2 separate regions of the Homo sapiens genome follow, and region 2 is linked to region 1. The links are contacts of gene promoters, found by promoter capture Hi-C in human tissues and cell types (Jung and others, 2019). All regions are on one chromosome and are shown on one strand. The core of a region is centred on a gene start or on the middle of the fragment in contact, and the rest is flanking DNA. Distances in the headings are between cores, read along the strand shown. Region 1 holds the start of KIF4B (kinesin family member 4B). Region 2 has its middle 38 kb from the start of KIF4B.

Region 1 (6,141 bases), core at 3,118-5,617:
AGGGATGGAGGATGTGCTGATCAGGTTGTTACATATTTTTATTATTACCCCTACTTATGAGTAAATATTCAGTGAATACCATGCCCTTGTTTCTCTAAAGACAATTTTGTGTCAGAGACCACCGATGATAAAAACAAGATGGGTACTATGAGAAAACAAAGCCCAGGTGACAAGCTGGGATGCTATAGGTCACATCCATTTCATCAGGTGGCACATTGAGAGCCACCTTGACCACTTTGGTTTCTCCGGAACAAGCATCTTTGGCAGGAACCCAGTGGCAAAACAAACTGGAGTCATGAGGGGTGATTACCTTGCAACTGCTGCTTGCCACATTATCTCAAGAGTGATGCTTAGGATTCTGAAAACACCCTGCCTGGGGCCAATAGTACAACATTTAGAAAGACATGGAGTTGGTGCCATTTTTCCTCTTCGTCTACAACTCCAATAGATACGTCCCTTTTCCCCTTTAAGAAATGTGGCATTTAGGGTATTTAATTTAATTGGGTGGATTGGGTAGAAGTAGAATAAGTTGCTTTTCCCTGTCCTTAATTCTGTTAGGTAACCAGAGACCAGTTGGAACAAAACCAAATCTGATTTACCAAAGATAACATCTGTTAGCATGTTTTCTTCTTCCGGGCTTTTTTTCTATGCATGTAAATATAAATAAGTTGCTATGCTTTTACAAAATTGGAATTATTATGTTTTATATAGTTTGTATTCTATTTATACTTAACATTATATGGAAAGCAATGGCCAAATCATTAAGTATTCTTCTAGGACAGGATATTTAATGTTTATATAATGTTTTATCACAGGGCTAAATCACATTTAACACTTTTATTTTGGACATTTAGGCAATTTTCAATTTTTTGCTAATATAAGTAACTGTATGATAAATAGTCACATCTTTTCACACATCCTTTCCTTAGAATAAGGAATCTCAGCTTCAGAGATACTCCTTTTTAGTTCATATGCCAACTCTCAATCTTAGTTGCCACCATTAGGTTTAATTTCTCCCACAGCTTTTTTATGGCCTCTGGACTAAGCACCTCTTGAATTATCTCTGAACTCTCAGCAGCTTTATAGAAATAATCTGGAAGCTGACCAGCAGCTCTAGTTTCTGGGCACGTCTGATTTACAGATTTCCTAGACATGGGGCAGATACTGGCCATTGCTGACGGCTCCATAGTTTGTATGGGTAGTGTAAGCATCTAATAGGAGATGGAATCTTTTTTCTCTTGGCCTACTTCTATCCTCCTCCTCCCTTCTCTCTTCTTCCTCTCTCTCTCTCTCTCTCGCTCTCTGTCATCTTTCTTGCTCTCTCTCTGGAAAAGACAGATTGGCATAACCTGAGTCAGATACTCACATCTGGATCTGTAAACCATAGGCCAGATAAGGTGGGTTACACTGAAGAAATATAGCAACTTCTATAACCCTATGCATAATGAGAAGAAGAAGAAATTCTTAGAAAATAGTGACTGGGCAAACAAGGCAACAGGGTCCAAAACAATTGGGTTTGATAAGGGAGGGTTCTAATCTATGGTCTGCTAGAAACTTGCTGAGCCACTCAGTCTCCTTCGCTAGGACTCAATGTGCTCCTCTTTGGAATGACACAGTTGGCTGGGTGTGGTGTGCATACATGTAATCCCAGTACTTTGGGAGGTTGAGGTGGGAGGATCCCTTAAGTTCAGGAGTTTGGGACCAGCCTGGGCAACATGGTGCAAGCCCATCTCTGCCAAAAACAAACAATTGAACAAAAATTAGCCAGGCGTGGTGACATGCACCTGTAGTCCCAGGTACTTGGGAGGCTGAGATGGGATGGATGATCACTTGAGCCCAGGAGGTAGAGCCTGCAGTGAGCCATGTTCATGCCACCGCACTCCAGCCTGAGTGACAAAGTCAGACCCTGTTTCAAAAAACCAAAAAAAAAAGTAAAAAAAAAAAAAAAGACACAGTTGGACTGATTGATTCCCAGATTCCCTCTAGGTCCTTCAGTTTGTTGGTGGTAAAGCCAAGGCTCCAAACTAGGGCTTCTTCCTCATGACATATCTCCTCCAGCTAGCAGCCTTCTCCAGTCCATGCTGTTGTTTATGATGAGTTCCCTGGCTTCCACCTCCACTCCACCAGGCCAGAATGAAGACACTGACCTTTGCAGTTAACTTCCAAGAAAGATGTGTGTGTTTCTTGCTTTAGGCTGTAGGTGAAATATGAGTAAATGGAATTTGGGGTAATCATTTTTCCCTGCTGACTCTGTAATTGCATTGTGATTCCAGAACTCTTTTTCCTTTAGAGAATGTGAGATATTGGAAAGCCCTTAGAAGTCATTTAGTCCAGGAGTTCTTAATCTGAATTCTGTGAACCTCTGAGGTCTGGGAACACACTGAAATTAGAGGAAGAATGTGTGTATGTACATTTTTGAATCGGTAGAGGAGATCAATTTTTAAAGCCACCTTATTTTTAACGGAGATACAATTAAGATCTTAAAATGTACAGATTAAATATTCAATTTGATAAGTTTCCACGAATATATAACTTGAGCATCCATCATCCAAAACAGGACCTAAAACATTTTCATCACACCCAAAGGGCACCCCTTATGTCACTTTCTAGTCAATCCTCCCCTGCCCCCCATTCCCCCAGCAACCACTTTCTGACTTCTATTTCATATGACCACAGTTTATTTTTTTCTTGTTTTAGAATTTCATGTGAATGGAACTGTACAGTTTTTGCTCTTTTGTCTTGCATCTTTTGCTCAACTTTTTTTTTTTGTAAAAAGACAACATTTTTTAGATCAGTTTTAGATTCACAGCAAAATTAAGAGGAAAGTACAGAGATTTCCCACATGCCTCCTTCCCCCAGACATGTTATCAACATCCAGCACCAGAACGGTACATTTGTTATAATTAATGAACATACACTGACACATCATTATCATTCAAAGCCAATAGTTTACATTAGGGTTCACTCTTAGCATTGTACATCCTTGTCAGCATTTGATGTTGTCAGTGTTCCAGATTTTGGCCATTCTAGTAGGTGTGTAGTAGTATCTTATTGTTTTAATTTACATTTTCCTGACCAAATATGATGTGGAGCATCTTTTCATGTGCTTTTTGCCATGTTTATATTTTCTTTTGTGAGGTGTCTGCTAAAGCCTTTGGCCCATTTTAAAATCAGGTCGTTCGTTCACTTATTGTTGCATTTTAAGAGTTATTTGTATATTTTGGATAATATTCCTTTATCAGATGTGTCTTTTGCAAATATTTTCTCTCAGTCTATGGCTTCTCTTCTTATTCTCTTGACAGTTTTGTTTGAAGAGCAGAAGTTTTCGATTTTAATGAAACTTATTAATGATTTATTTCATGGATTGTGCCTTTGGTGTTATATCTAAAAAGTCATCTCACACCTGAATTCATCTAGGTTTTCTCCTATGTTATTTTCTAGGAGTTTAATAGTTTTGCATTTTACAGTTAGGACTATGATCCTTTTGAGTGAATTTTTGTGAAGGCTGTAAGGTCTGATTTTTTTTTTTTTTTTTTAACATGCAGAAGTCCAGTTGTTCCAGCACCATTTGTTCCATTTGTTGAAAAAACTATCTTTGTTTCATTGTATTGCCTTTGCTTCTTTGTCAAAGATCATTTAACTATATTATGTGGGTCTATTCACTGTATCTAAATGGTCTCTCTACTCTAATACATTGGCCTATTTGTCTATTCTTTTGCCAATACCACATTGTCTTGATTACTGTAGTTTTATAGTAAGTCTTGAAGTTGGGTAGTGTCAGTCTTATGACTTTGTTCTTCTCCTTCAATATTATGTTTGCCATTGTATTTTTTTTTTCCTCTCTATATAAACTTTAGAGTCAGTTTGTCAATATCTATAAAACAACTTGCTGGGATTTTGATTTGAATTGCATTGAATGGATAGATCAGTTTGGGAAGAACTGACATCTTTACGATATTCAGTCTTCTTATCCATGAACATAAAATATCTCTCCATTTATTTAGTTCCCCTTTGATCTTGTTCATCAGAGTTTTGTAGTTTTCATCACGTAGATCTCATACATATTCTGTTAGGTTTATACCTATTTCATTTTTTAAGTGCTAATGTAAGTGGTATTGTGCTTTCAATTCTGAATATCACTTATTCACTGTTGGTATATAGGAAACCAATTTACTTTTGTGTATTAACCTTGTATCCTTTAAGTTTATACTATACTCACTTATTAGTTCCAGGACATTTTTCTGTTGTTGGTTAAAAAGAAATTTCTCGATTTACCCTCCCCTTCCCACCGTGCTGGCCTGCGCGCGCGGACGTGCGCGCTCCGCCCTCGGGCCGCCTGCACTGCAATTGGTTGGTGTCTCTGGGAGGGATTTGAAACTTGGCGGTTAAAGCTCCGGCTGGGACAGGGCGGCGGGAGACCCCGGGTGAACGGGGAAGGGACATTTAGTTTGAGACGGTGCTGAGATAGGATCATGAAGGAAGAGGTGAAGGGAATTCCTGTAAGAGTGGCACTGCGTTGTCGCCCTCTGGTCCCCAAAGAGATTAGCGAGGGCTGCCAGATGTGCCTTTCCTTCGTGCCCGGGGAGACTCAGGTGGTGGTTGGTACTGATAAATCCTTCACCTACGATTTTGTGTTTGACCCCTGTACTGAGCAGGAAGAAGTCTTCAATAAAGCAGTAGCGCCGCTCATAAAAGGCATATTTAAAGGATATAATGCAACGGTCCTGGCCTATGGGCAGACTGGCTCTGGAAAAACCTATTCAATGGGAGGTGCATACACTGCGGAGCAGGAGAATGAACCAACAGTTGGCATTATTCCTAGGGTAATACAACTGCTCTTCAAAGAAATTGATAAAAAGAGTGACTTTGAATTTACTCTGAAAGTGTCTTACTTAGAGATTTACAATGAAGAAATTTTGGATCTTCTATGCCCATCTCGTGAGAAAGCTCAAATAAATATACGGGAGGATCCTAAGGAAGGCATAAAGATTGTGGGACTCACTGAGAAGACTGTTTTAGTTGCCTTGGATACTGTTTCCTGTTTGGAGCAGGGCAACAACTCTAGGACTGTGGCCTCCACAGCTATGAACTCCCAGTCGTCCCGATCTCATGCCATCTTTACAATCTCCATAGAGCAAAGAAAGAAAAGTGACAAGAATTGCAGCTTTCGCTCCAAGCTGCATCTTGTAGATCTCGCTGGATCAGAAAGACAGAAGAAAACCAAGGCTGAAGGGGATCGTCTAAAAGAGGGTATTAATATTAACCGAGGCCTCCTATGCTTGGGAAATGTAATCAGTGCTCTTGGAGATGACAAAAAGGGTAGCTTTGTGCCCTACAGAGATTCCAAGTTAACTCGACTGCTGCAAGATTCTCTAGGAGGTAACAGCCACACTCTTATGATAGCCTGTGTGAGTCCTGCTGACTCCAATCTAGAGGAAACATTAAGTACCCTTCGCTATGCTGACAGAGCAAGAAAAATCAAGAACAAACCTATTGTTAATATTGATCCCCACACAGCTGAACTTAATCATCTAAAGCAACAGGTACAACAGCTACAAGTCTTGTTGCTACAAGCCCATGGAGGTACCCTGCCTGGATCTATAAATGCAGAACCATCAGAGAATCTACAATCCCTGATGGAGAAGAATCAGTCCCTGGTAGAGGAGAATGAAAAATTAAGTCGTTGTCTGAGCAAGGCAGCTGGTCAGACAGCCCAGATGTTGGAGAGGATCATTTTGACAGAGCAAGTGAATGAAAAACTGAACGCCAAGCTAGAAGAGCTCAGGCAGCATGTGGCCTGCAAGCTGGATCTTCAAAAGCTAGTGGAGACTTTGGAAGACCAGGAATTGAAAGAAAATGTAGAGATAATTTGTAACCTGCAGCAACTGATTACCCAGTTATCAGATGAAACTGTTGCTTGCACGGCTGCAGCCATTGATACTGCGGTAGAAGAAGAAGCTCAAGTGGAAACCAGTCCAGAGACAAGCAGGTCTTCTGACGCTTTTACCACTCAGCATGCTCTCCATCAAGCTCAGATGTCTAAGGAGGTGGTTGAGTTGAATAACGCCCTTGCACTGAAAGAGGCCCTAGTTAGGAAGATGACTCAGAACGACAACCAACTACAGCCCATTCAGTTTCAAT
Region 2 (6,001 bases), core at 3,262-5,761, 39 kb after region 1:
GCTCCCTGTCTCTCCCGTGGATGAGGGGGTGTGGGTTTCTACAGAAAGGGCTTTTGAGCTGCCATACGTGCATTTCAGTGGCTGCCTTGCCCAGCTGAGTCTGTGGAAGAAGGGATGGGTGGGATCTGCAGAAGGGGTGGGTGGGAAGAAATGTGTATGTAGAAATTACAGAACTGATGGATTCCCTGGTCCTGTCCACATGGATAATACTGGAGTAGGATTTGAGGGATTTTTAGAAAATTCTTTCCAATGAGGCCTGAAAGTTTCCATCAGTCATGTAACGTTTTCCATTCTAATGGGAATAATGAGTGTTAATAATAAATGTAAGACCCCTATATCTTGTATCTTGAACAAGGTATCATTGCACTCTTTCATGTAAGAGATTTGTAAGCTTACCCCAGGGGGAACGAGTTACATATGCAAATCCCTTGTCTTAGTCTAGAGTTCCCGCTGGTCCTCTCTGTTGAGCTGTATGTCTCCCCAGCCTAGAGGTTCTCAGATTGGTCTTCCATCAACACTGTCAACACTGTTACCTGGGAACTTGTTAGAAATGTAAATTCATGGGGCCTACCCGAGATGTACAGAATCAGATGCTGTGTGGGGTGGGGCCCAGCAGGTTATTTCAAAAAGCCCTCCCAGTGATTTTGATGCACTTTAAAGCTGGGAAAACCACTGCCTTCTTCTGTTTTTAGGAGAGGCTTGCCCCTTGGTTCAAGGGTTCAAAGGATACATGCCTGTGAAGACTTCTGTGAGCAAGGTCTTTGAGATTAAACCCTAAGGAGGCTTTGAGTGATACTGCCATAAGCTCCAACCATCGCTTCTTTCAGCCTTGGGAAAAGTTATAATTCCTTAAGGATGTTAACTTGAACATTCCTTACAGAAGCTGAGCTATAGAGGGTGACACTGCTCTCTGTCCTTCATCCTTCAGAGGATAAGTGATGTCAGCATGAGGCTCTTTCTTGGACAATTGACATTTCCCACCTTAAGATGGAGGGTGGGGGGCAAAGCACCCTGAATTGAATCACAATGGACCAATGTCAAATTGCAGTCTTAAGTTGTAAGTGGAAGAAAGGAAGGATGATTGATTCAGAATCTGCTGTTCCTTTGCATTAATTTCCACAATGGCCCCCTGAGGTAGATACAATTATCCTTAAAGAAAAGTGAAATAGTTTGACCAATTTTAGTGAGTGGTAGAGTGGAGATTCAGGCCCAGACAATCATATACCAAGAACCAAACCTGTAGCCACCAGGCTACAGTGTTACCTGTGGTGCATTAGGATCCTCTTTTTTTCCTTATGTTTTTCCTTCTTTCCATCTCAGCATTGCACCCTAGTCTGTCCTGCACTGCACTTCCTCACCACAGAGAGGCTGGGACTTCTAGGCTTTTTGTCCTTTCATTGATTGACTTTGGTGGAGTTTGGAGGAAACAGAGGGATTTACAACTCCCCACAGCCCCATCCAGGTTAGAAAGATTCCCCATGATATAGGGAGGAGAGCACAGGTGGAGAGGATGAGAGCAGTGAAGTTTGTGGATCTGCAGAGTGAGGTCCTACATCCTGCCCCCTGGCGAGCAGCAAGAGAAAAATGTGGCTCAGCCAGTTTTATTGGAGGGAGACAGAGATGGCTTTGCAGGGAGTTCTTGTCTCAGAAGCAAGACTGGTTGCTGGGCCTGAAAGTGTTGAGTGGAAAGGCTGTTATGGTCTGAATGTGTCCCCTCTAAAATGTAGGTGTTGTAATGTGATTGTATTAAGAGGTGGGGCCTGTAAGAGGTGATTGGGCCATGAGAGCTGCTCCCTTATTAGCAGGATTAAGACCCTTTAAAGAGAAACTGCATGGAGCTAACCTCTAACTAGAGACTTTCCACTTTGACCAATCAAATATTATCTTTGTCTTATTTCCTCAAACACCTAATAAAAATTTTCTCTCCCACCCCCTTGGTGGAGGCATGAACTGCTTATGGTCTGGTGCTGCCCAGTTTATGAATGGTTAAATGCTCAAATAAACTGCGTCTTTTAATACCTCTTTCCCCTTCCTTCCTTCCTTCCTTCCTTCCTTCCTTCCTTCCTTCCTTCCTTCCCTTCCTTCCTGCTATTTTTCTTGTTGCTATTATAAATGATGTTGCAATGAATTTTTTTTTACCCATAACTTTATGCTTTGTTTTAATATCTACTTTTTTTAAGGTTGCTTTGTTTTACTTTTGCATCTGCTGGCTCCTAAGTTATATACATTTACAATTTTGATAGCTACTGCCAAATTGCCTTTCAAAAAGACTGTATTATTTTTAACTCCCACCAACAGAGTTACAAACAGTAATGTTTATGAATTCTGCATTGTACTTCCCTTTTTAATGACCACATTATCCTGCCAGACTGTAAGATTCCCTGAGGGTAGGAATCTGCCTGCCTTTCCTCTGCTGTGTCCTCAGCATTTAGCACAGTGCCTGGCCCACCACAGGTTCTCTGTAAGTATTTGTCGAGTGAAACAAAAGGCGCAGAGTGAACACTCGCCAAAGGCTTCTTCTTAGAAGTTTGCCTGGGAAAATTTTAAAACAAGAACTTCCGATTCACAAGAAAAAAAATTAAGCTTGGAGGACCATAATTTTCTAAACTCACTTTTGTAGATTAAAAATAAAATCCTAAGTCTTCCACCGACTGAACAGACCCCCATCTGGCTAAGGGGACCCCAGAAAAACTTTAAACATGAAATTCCCAGTCGTGATAGGTAGGTCAGACATACCTTGTTATAGCCCCTCCCTTTTGGAGTTTAGGCACAACTGACCAGAATTAATTTTTTTTCTTTTTCTTTTTTTTTTTTTTTTGAGATGGAGTTTTGCTCTTGTTGCCCAGGCAGGAGTGCAATGGCGGGATCTTGGCTCACTGCAACCTCCGCCTCCCAGGTTCAAGTGACTCTCCTGCCTCAGCCTCCCAAGTAGCTGGGATTATAGGCATGCGCCATCACGCCCGGCTAATTTTGTATTTTTAGTAGAGACGGGTTTCTTCATGTTGGTCAGGCTGGTCTCGAACTCCCGACCTCAGGTGATCCGCCCAATTCGGCCTCCCAAAGTGCTCGGATTATAGGTGTGAGCCACCGCGCCCAGCCAGCATTAATCCTAAGGCTAATAAAATGGACTCTTTGTGACAATAAGATACCAAATTATAATCAGGATCTAAGGCCATCCAGACAATGGTTAAGTCACACACTCCTACAGGTCTCTCTGACTCAGTATGTTGGTTAGTAGACTTCCTTATTATAACCTAAAACGTTCCTTTTTGTTGACTTCAAATTTTTAGACAAAGTTTTACTCCTTTAACCAATTGCAAATTAAAGAATCTCTGAATCCACATACAACCTATAACCCTGCCTCCCCTTCAGGATATCCCACTTTTCTAGGCTGAACCAAGGTATACCTTTCATTTATTGATTTGTGTCTTTACCTATAACTTCTGCCTATCTAAAGTGTATAAAACCAAACCGTAATCCAATTGCTATGGGCACGCTTTCTCAGGACCTCTTGAGAGTGTGTTCCCTGGGCCATGTCACTCATATTGGTTCAGAATAAACCTCTTTGACATATTTTACAGAGGCTGGGCATGATGGCTCACGCCTGTAATCCTAGCACCTTGGGTTGCTGAGGTGGGTGGATCGCTTGAGCTCAGGAGCTCAATACCACCCTGGGCAACATGGTGAAACCCCATCTCTACAAAAAATACAAAATGTAGCTGGGTGTGGTGGTGCATGCCTGTAATCCTGCTACTCGGGAGGCTGAGGCAGGAGGATTGCTCGTGCCAGGAGGTTGAGGTTGCACAGTCATGATCGTGCCACTGTACTCCAGCCTGGGTGACACAGCAAGACCTTGTCTCAAAGATTTTTTTTTTTAATTGATTTTTTTTAAGAGAGTCTTGTTTTTCCATTAGCACCTGGGACAGTGAAGCTAAAAATGTCTGTTGTTTTTTTCCAAATTTTAATTTGTTTCTTTGGCTTGGTAGTAATACAAAGAGGAAGAAGAAACCTTGGATTCTGCAGGTGTGCTCAAGTTGGATATTTGCACATAAATGTAGACAAGCATCCCCTCTGGGAAGCTGGATATCCACACTGTGGATCCCCGGGCAATTTCTTTCCAAGTCTGTGACCTTGATCAATTGTCCTACTAAGTGTAAGGTACACTGCCAATATGTGACTTAGTCTCTTTGGCTGACAGGCAGTGCGTGGGTCTAGTTTGTGGCACAGAGGGCCTGGCTTAAGTCCTGCCTTTTTGCTCTGTGACCTTGGGCAAGTCACTTTGCCTCTCAGGGCCCTCACTTCCGGAGTGGAGATAGTCATTTCTGCAGTGCCTGCCTCTTGGCCAGTTGTGAGGCCCAGAAGCAGGTTGTAAATTGTAGTGTGCTATGCAAATGTGAAACATTAGAAGCAGAGTAGTTTGTTGGCGTCTTGACAAGATCTTGTAGGGGAGGAAAAATAATTTTCTTTCTACCTTCCATTGTTCTTAGTTGGGATTCCCTGTAACAAAAGACAGATAAACAAGAGTAAAATGAAGAGAAGTCTAATAACATGTATACCTCCTCTGTACAGGGGAGATATTCAGGGACATCTCAGAGCAAAATCTCAAGAGTAGATCTCAAAGAATTGTCTGAGGGTTCAGGCTTAAATACCATCATACCTCCCCACTCACCTGCTGGCCCCCCAACAAAAAAAGAAAGGTATGGGAAAGGGCAGGAAAAGCACTGTTAACAAGGGCAAGGTTTGTTATACAGACTTAAGTGACACCTTCCCCATTGATAAGAGAATCTAGTGATTTAGTAATCTCTCTCTTCCTGGGGCAGAGAGGGAGATACCCTTAAAATAGAGATCTCCTTTATAGATGCAAATTTCTCTTAAAAAAGGACAACTTCTCTTGTTTGCAGAACTTCTCCTATGCCTGCTTTCCCCACAAATAATCAGTTCACAATAATCCTTATGTTACACAGGCATATTTTGGGTTGATATATTCTGGTCATGTTTTGGGGTGCTGTGTCCTGATCCCCAACAACACAAACAAATGAGAAGATCAGTGGGAAAAACAAGAGTTCTGCTACAGGAAAACAGTGCTTGGGGGGCCACTCTGAAGAATATGTTAAGTGACAAGAGGAGAAGAGGATGGAGGGCGGGCAGGCACTGAGGAATGACGTGGAAGAGAGAGGAATGCAGCCAACCCTTCCAGGGACAAGAAGGACTTGGCTCTATTGCCTCTGTGAAGCAGGGACCTGTCTCCTTGGGGCTGATTTGTTTTATTTGGTGTGTTGTTAACCTTTGCTCAGTCCTAGGCTGTGGTTAACTTGGGGCCATAGGCAGGGGGAGAAGGTCACAGCAAATTTAGTGGGAGGCATTTTAAGTACTTAAAGCAATAAATCCTCATGTACCTCGAGCCTGCTCAGGCTTCCCTAAACCTGGGAATTCAATTTTGTGCAGCGTACACAGTTTGCCAAGCACACTAAGTCATTGAGAGAACAACTTGATGTATTGCTGTGGGGAAAAAAAATGCTGTGTTCCTTTCGTCATTCAAATTAGCAACTTTTCATACTGGGATGACAGGTGACTGATCACCTGAGAATATATCCTGTCTTCTAGTGATTTGATATCTCTTCCTTCTCTGTTTCCCTATCTGTATTTTCATGCCTTAAAGAGTAAAGAGAAAACATTTCTATTACAATTGCTATAGAATCAGTACCTGATTCATAAGCCCCAAGCCTCAGGGCCTGGCATATGGTAGGCATTAATAAATGATGAATGAATAAATGACTAGATTTGGTTGCTGTCTGCAGACTGCCCTGTTTCCTTCCCAGAGGGTCGGAGGAAGCTTTTGCTTTTTTTTTTTTTTTTTGGTGTGGTGGAAGCAGTATGCACTGCTGCAGTGCAGGACATTGTACGTCTGCACTGTTCAGACTCTCCTTGGGTAAGAGACTTATTGTCCTGGCTTCTGAGAATGGTGGTAGCCCCTTGAGGAATTGCCTAAGTTGCAGAGAGC

The links. The method cuts DNA at HindIII sites, captures the fragments that hold promoters and counts their contacts. A contact is called where the count stands out against the background at its distance.
Region 2: a contact is called between a fragment that was not itself captured here and the fragment with the promoter of KIF4B in region 1, in 4 of the 25 tissues and cell types used here (heart right ventricle, mesendoderm cells, spleen and 1 more).

What each region holds. Positions count from the first base shown.
Region 1 is chr5:155,009,388-155,015,528 of GRCh38, forward strand. KIF4B (kinesin family member 4B) reads left to right here and starts at 4,368. Exons shown (of 1, transcript NM_001099293.3): 1 at 4,368-6,141. The coding sequence starts at 4,473. The HindIII fragment of the contact is 20,564 bases long and covers 1-6,141 here.
Region 2 is chr5:155,048,435-155,054,435 of GRCh38, forward strand. No RefSeq gene overlaps it. Among named protein-coding and RNA genes, the nearest start is that of KIF4B, 38 kb to the left of the region's middle. RefSeq lists an enhancer at 823-1,324. The HindIII fragment of the contact is 6,048 bases long and covers 1,488-6,001 here.